2 separate regions of the Homo sapiens genome follow, and region 1 is linked to region 2. The links are contacts of gene promoters, found by promoter capture Hi-C in blood cells and fetal thymus (Javierre and others, 2016). All regions are on one chromosome and are shown on one strand. Each heading gives the region's core, a stretch centred on a gene start or on the middle of the fragment in contact. The rest is flanking DNA. Distances are from core to core; before and after follow the strand shown.

Region 1 (3,483 bases), core at 539-3,038, 220 kb before region 2:
GGAACACACTTTGGGAAACAGTGCTCTGGTGCAACTCAAATTATAATCTCCCACAATCCACCAATAGCCCACAGCTCTCTAGAAGTAATTAACAGCTTCCAGTGGAATTAACCCAGTCCAATCTTCTCACCAGTGTCTCTCTTTCCCGTTGCTGCAGTCTGGCACTTTCCTGCTCACGATTCAGGGCCTCCATGGCCTCAGAAAGGCTTTGTTCCAGGCGGGTTACTGTCTTTCAGGAAGAGAGGAATACAGGGCAGAGGAACTGTGGGAAATCTGTGTGTGCTATATTTTATAAAGCATTGACAATGTAAACTTGAAACTTCACAGTTAACTAAATGACTAAGGGGCCAGATAGAAGACTACATGGTGTGGGAAAAATTAAGACATTGATGATTCAAGTTGGACAGCAGAAACGGTTAAAGGAGAAGAAAGGAGGGATGAGAAGAAATGTCAGGACAGCCACTACAAGACTGAGGTCAATCTGTTGGAAACCCTAATTCCAGAGCTATTTCTGCCCCTTTCCATCTTGAGATCTGTGACTCAGGTTCTAATGCCATATGCTCCAGGGCGCTCACCTCCTGCTGCTTGCTTCTGGTGAGCTCTGCTGCCTGGTGTTCCTCTTGAAGTCCCCTGAGAACCTCTGTCCGCTCAGCCTCATGCCGGTTCCAGCCCTCCACCACACGGGCCAGGGTCTTAGGTAGGGCAAGTAAGATGAAATTTCAAAATAACTTTTTTGCCTCTTTCTACCCACAGGGGCAGGGTCAACAGCCATCTTCTCCCAACAGTCAGCAAACCAACCCCTTGCCCAGCTCTCAGCATGTACCAAGAAACATTGGTTGGCCACCCACTTATTTATTATTCCTTAATGCTCTTCATGGAGAGACCCACCCACATTTTGCTACCCTGGTACCTTGTCCAGTTGTTCAATCATGGTATCTTTCTTGCGGTCGGCAGCCACAGCCACGGCTAATTGTTGCTGTAGCTCTAACACTCGGGTCTGCAGGCTCTGAATATGGCGCTCACAATGCTGGGGAAAAGGGTGAGGAGTCTGGGTGTTGCCCATCTTTGGTATGACCACAGCACCAAACTTTCCAGCTCCTCTAGTGGGGGAGTGGGCTGGAGCCAAGAAGCTTGGGTCCCAAGAACAGAATAGGTCTGGAGAGGGAGAATCAGGAAAATTCTGAAGCAAGCACCTTGAGGCTCAAGATCTCCAACATGTTTCTGTACCTTTTCAGGAGATAAGTGCTTAGATTCCAGGCTCCTCCTTTTCCTGGATCTCCTGAGTAAAAATCCCATAAACCTTTTGGCAGAGATGCAGCAGCCCACACAGCAAAATGTGCAAAGTTACTCCTACCTTCAGAAGCTCATTGGACACAATGAATAAACACAGCAAGGATAAAGGGGAAAGCCTTTCATTCATGCCAAGGGGTTTAACATGGAGAAAGAGAGGCTTCCAAAAATGGCAACCAGTGATTTTGACTTTTCCTCTCCTTTGTCTATTTCTCTGTCCCCTTCAGACACTAAGGCAGAGGCTCACAGAGATAAAGCTCAGTATATCACCAGTAGCTGTAAATCCTGTGCACAAGCTAGCAGAGTTTGTGTCCATTCGACAAACACAGAGTGTTTCTGTGTTATGTATATTCTAGACCTTAGGCAGCCAGTACTAAGACAAACAAGATACGGACCCTCAAATTTTAGAGAGGAGAAAAAAACAAGATATATCAGAACGATAAGCTACATGAAAGAAATAAGAAGGCGATCTGACTACTTGGAAAGGAGGTGGTGCCATATTAGATGGAATGGTCAAAAAAGCCCTCCTCAGAAAAACATTTAAGTCCCAGCTTTCAGGCTCTTAACCCTCAGCCCTTTTCTTTTTTAGTTTTTTTTTTTTGAGACGGAGTCTCGCTCTGTCGCCCAGGCTGGAGTGCAGCGGCATGATCTCGGCTCACTGCAAGCTCCGCCTCCCAGGTTCACGCCATTCTCCTGCCTCAGCCTCCCGAGTAGCTGGGACTACAGGCACCCACCACCATGCCCGGCTAATTTTTTCTATTTTTAGTAGAGACGGGTTTCACCGTGTTAGCCAGGATGGTCTCGATCTCCTGACCTCGTGATCCGCCTGCCTCAGCCTCCCAAAGTGCTGTGATTACAGGCGTGAGCCACCACGCCAGGCCCCCTCAGCCCTTTTCAACACTTGGGTCCCCTCTTTCTAATCTTTGCTGCTTTCGAAAGGAAGCGTTTGCATCTTACCTTGCGGCGGGTATGCTCTGAATCCAATGCATCTCTCAGCCCCTGAAAATCTGGGGGATTGAGTGGAGGCCCTGGCCGAAGGCTGGTGTAGCGGGGAAACAGCTCCTCCAGGGCTTGGGCTGAGCTAGATGGAGACAAGTCTTGCAGGGGCCGGGTGCTGAGCAAATCAGGTAGAGAATGTTAGGGCTGGGAAAGCTTTTGGAATCCACTTGTCCAACTGTGATATTCTACAAATGAGGAAACTGAGACCCAGAGAGGGCAAGAGACTTGTCCAAAGTCGTAAAGCTATATAACCATAGTGCTATAAATAACACACAGGTCTGTGATTCACTTAAAGGTTTCAGCAGAAACAAGCTAACTCTTTAGAGGGGAAGAATGACTGCAGGTTAAGAGAAAGCCAGGTACTAGGCAACAGATACCTGTGTTCCTGAAGGAGTAAAGGGGGCAGGAGACAGTAGAAAAAGATGAAAACTGAAAGGCAAGTGATAAGCCTCTTGGGTTCTTAAGAGGTACAAAAGCAATAAAGGGAGAAATAAGGAACAAAACACCTGGATTTCCAAGAAAGCAAACAAGCTAGGAGAACCACAAGGAGAACTCACTTGAGCAAGGTGGCTGTGCTATCACTGTCAAAGGAGTCCTCTTCCCGTCTCTCTGAGCCAGCGCCAGGAATGAGAGGATCCCCTGCAGGCAGCCAGAGGGACCCCAAAGCCAGAGTCAGGTAATGACAAAAACAGGGGCCACCTGAAGAGAAAAGGCCTTCCTTTCCAGTTCCCTCACTCCTTCACCCCCTCTCCCAAAGAACGGGAGACTTTTCTCCTGAAATCTCTTGCTCAGAGGTTTTCCTGCCTGCTTCCTCTGTCCACTTTCTCCCACCCCTTACATCTAGGTTCTCCTTCATAGTTCTAGGGAAGGGGCTTACTCACGATAGGCTGTATCACGTGAGGTTTGGAGCATGGTCTGGAGCTGACCCCGAACACTTTCCATCTCAAAGATATGCTTAGAACCATCCTGGAAAAAAGCCACATGGAAATCAGATGCAGTCTGTGTTATCTATCTCCTACCTATTGCCAGGGTAGAATTTTCACTCCAGCACTTTGGAAAACAAGAAAAACCAAACGGATCCAATAAGGGATGTCCTAAACTTGAATCAGAAATTCAAATACTACAGAAGCCAGAAAGAGAGTGTAAATAAAATAATCGAGGAGGTATAAGACAAGAGTTGCGGAGATTCTTGCC
Region 2 (3,238 bases), core at 428-2,927:
GCGGTGGCTCATGCTTGTAATCCCAGCATTTTGGGAGGCCGAGCCGGGTGGATCACCTGAGGTCAGGAGTTCGAGACCAGCCTGGCCAACATGGCAAAACCCCGTCTCTACTAAAAATACAAAAAATTAGCCAGGAGTGGTGGTGCGTGCCTGTAATTCCAGCTACTCGGGAGGCTGAGGCAGGAGAATCTCTTGAACCCGAGAGGTAGAGGCTGCAGTGAGCCAAGATCATGCTACTATACTCCAGCCTGGCTGACAGAGTGAGACTCTATCTCAAAAAAAAAAAAAAAAAAGATGGCCAGACACCCCACTAATGAGGATTTAGAACCTCTATCTCTGCCCCGGGGTATGAGAACATAAGATAATCAGGAAAAGATCTATCAAGCTGAAGTGTGGTTGCCCAAACCCTCATCCACTCTACCCTCCAGGACCATGAGTGAGTGAGAGAGGATCAAGGAAGGGGTGCACATCCCCCATCCTTTGTCACTGTTCAATCATTCAAGCAAACCAAGATGATTTTCCTATGTACCTCTTTTCCTCCCAAGTTAAATGGAAATATGCTCCTCCCAATCCCACTAAAATCTGCAACATCTGTAAACAGAGAAAAACAGTATTTGCCACCTGGGTCTATCGCTTTGAAGTCCTGAGGGGCAGGAACACTGTTTTGTGTGTACTGAGGTCTCTTAGCAGAGTTGGCTGAGGAACTCTGTGCTAATGGTTAAGATCAGTCAGGATCATTTATTTGACTCAAAATGCCCTGAGAACAGATTGGAAGAAAGAAGGACAAAAGTCATCCAATCATAAATTTCAAATTGTGTCATGAGGAAAAAGCAATTGGGGCACGAGGAAGGTCACAGTGGTGCCTCTCTCAGAAAGGTAGGATGGCAGGAAGCGGGGATCTCGGACAGGTGCTCAGAATCCCAGGCGCAAAGTCTGAGGCGCTGGGCACTCTCTTTTCATTAGGCTGCAGCCTAACGGCACCTGTGGCTCTCCTTCCTCATCCCCACAGGCTGCCACAGGCATTGATCTCAGGTTATGAATTTCAAACTTGAAGGATTTGTACTTTGCTCCAAGGAAAAACGTTCTGTTAGGCCAGCAAATCAATAAAACCAACTACAGCAAGGAGGCTTCCTCCATCAGTCTCCAGAGAAGCATCAAGCTGCGCTTTCCTGCCTCAAACTAGAGCCTGAGGCGCATGCACCGTGGGGTTCACCACGCGATCCCACACCGCAGGCCCCAGGAGGAACTGCTCTGCTAAGTCGGGGCTCACTCTAGTACTAGGAAATACCGCAGGGGCCAGCAGTATTTATCCTGCAGTATAAATCCAGCAGTATTTATCCAGCAGTATTTATACCAGCAGCTGGTATCCTTAAACTGGTTACCAGCAGGCAAATTTCCCCTCAGAATGGCTCTTCCCCCCCAGCTGTCACAACTGCCCCTTCTCCTCCCCCTCCCCCACACAAATATTCCTTGCTCCCTCTCCCTCCACAACTGCCTCTTCTCCCCAACAACTGTCCCTTCCTACCCCGACACTACTGCCCCTTCTCCCCAGCACTCCTTCCCTCCTTCCCTCTGCCCCCGACACACACCTTGCCACGCTGACCCTCCCCTCCCTAGACCGACCGATGGGCCACTCTAAGAAGTTGCCCCTCGCAGCCCTCTCGGGCCGGCGTCTGCACGCGTCCCCATGGCAACCCCGGGCAGGGAGGGGCGAGTGGCCGGTGTGCGGCCCCTCGGAGCCCGCCTCCTCCGCGCAGGCGCCCTGGATCCCTGCTTCGCGGCCCCACCCCGCCCAGGTCTACCCCTCAGGGACCCAGGGCTTGAAGGCTCCGGGACTAAAGGAAAGTAGCCACATCTGGCGAGCCGAAGGGTGCGGGGGGCCTGGTGTCAGGACCCAGCTGGAAGGGCTGGGGCGAGAGACAGTGAGCCACCGCCCCGCAGGACATTGAAAAGGCAGGGAGAACCCAATCGCCCGACCCCGCGCCCAGGTCTGTGCGCCCCAGCCGGAACGGGTCCAGCAGATGGCGCCGGGCGCCAGGCCGGCGAGGGATATTCGCGATGTAGAAGGCGTTCCAGGATTTCCAGGCAGCCGTGGGTGCAGCTGGATCCGGGGGAAAAACCGGGCCTGGAGCACCCTTGCCCTCCTGCTCCTTCCCCCTTCTTAGTTCGGATTGGGGTCTAGGATTGCGGGGGGGCGGCGCGGGGCGGGGAAAGGGAGGGAAGACGGGAACTGGAGTTTTGGGAATCTGAGGATTGGCTTTCGAAGGCATCGCTGGTTTTTGGGGGGGATGAGAGGCGGGGACTCCCTGGGGAAGGTGACCGGGCCTGGGAGGGGCTTCGCTCTCCATAGGAACAAAGGCTGCGTCGTGAGAGAGGAGGCGAGAGGGGAGGGCTATGAGGGCCGGGGTACATCTCCGAGGGTGCCAGGGGGCGCTGCGGGCCGGGGCTGCTAGAAGGCGCCTGGAAGACCGCTGTACCTGGTGCCGGGAGGAGCTTTGGGGAGACCTGGGAAATACAGGGAGGAAGCCGAGTGGGGGGATGGGAAGGCGCCCTCCCTGTTTCCATCAATAGTGCCTAATTAAGACAAAGCCAGCAGCGAGCCCACTGATTACATTTCCATGAGGAGCGAAATTTATGACATTTTCTTTGCTGGATGAGGAGAAGAGAAGCTGGCACCTCAGTTCCCCCATTTTCTGTTTGGCGTTCACACCTAACAGATCTCATTATGCCAGCCTGGCACTACCAGGAGTGGCAGTCCCTGGTACTCCTGAAGAGCAAGTGGATTAACCACACCCTATCCCAGCGCTGACCTCACCCTCCCACCTACCGTATCTTTATTCCCAGAAGTGTCAACCCTTTCCCTCCCCCCGACCCCCAATAATTCCTCCTGCCCAGCCAGACTCCTGTTGCTGACAGCAGGAATGGAAGGAGAGGAGTACCGCCCACCCCAAAACCAGCTGCACAGCTAGCACAGCTAAGATGGAACGTGGAGGTGTTCCTCTAGCCAGATAGGCCATGGGTGGCAGACAGAGGTGATGTGGTTGGCCAGAACCCCTAGGGAAAAGTCCCAAAGGAGTGAAAATTTGCTGGAGGCGTGGGGTGGGGAGCCTCAGGGGCAAGGTTCATGGGTCCCTCGGGGAAAGGAACTTTGCACAGACCCCATTTCTTTTCTTAAACCCCCCTCCCCAACTGTGGCTGTGCCTACGGATCCCAGCCCCCCACATTATGCTAAATAGGT

Evidence for each region. Contacts are between HindIII fragments. The CHiCAGO score rates a contact against its expected background, and 5 or more counts as called.
Region 1: a fragment that was not itself captured here is called in contact with the fragment with the promoter of DNAH2 in region 2 in 1 of 17 cell types (endothelial precursors); the score reaches 5.1 in endothelial precursors.

What each region holds. Positions count from the first base shown.
Region 1 is chr17:7,933,910-7,937,392 of GRCh38, reverse strand. It overlaps CNTROB (centrobin, centriole duplication and spindle assembly protein), which reads right to left. Exons shown (of 19, transcript NM_053051.5): 2 at 3,171-3,255; 3 at 2,847-2,928; 4 at 2,248-2,404; 5 at 911-1,027; 6 at 576-692; 7 at 131-229. Among named protein-coding and RNA genes, the nearest start is that of CNTROB, 3.4 kb to the right of the region's middle. The HindIII fragment of the contact is 1,312 bases long and covers 1,133-2,444 here.
Region 2 is chr17:7,716,183-7,719,420 of GRCh38, reverse strand. It overlaps DNAH2 (dynein axonemal heavy chain 2), which reads right to left and starts at 1,677. Exons shown (of 86, transcript NM_020877.5): 1 at 622-1,677. The HindIII fragment of the contact is 13,987 bases long and covers 1-3,238 here.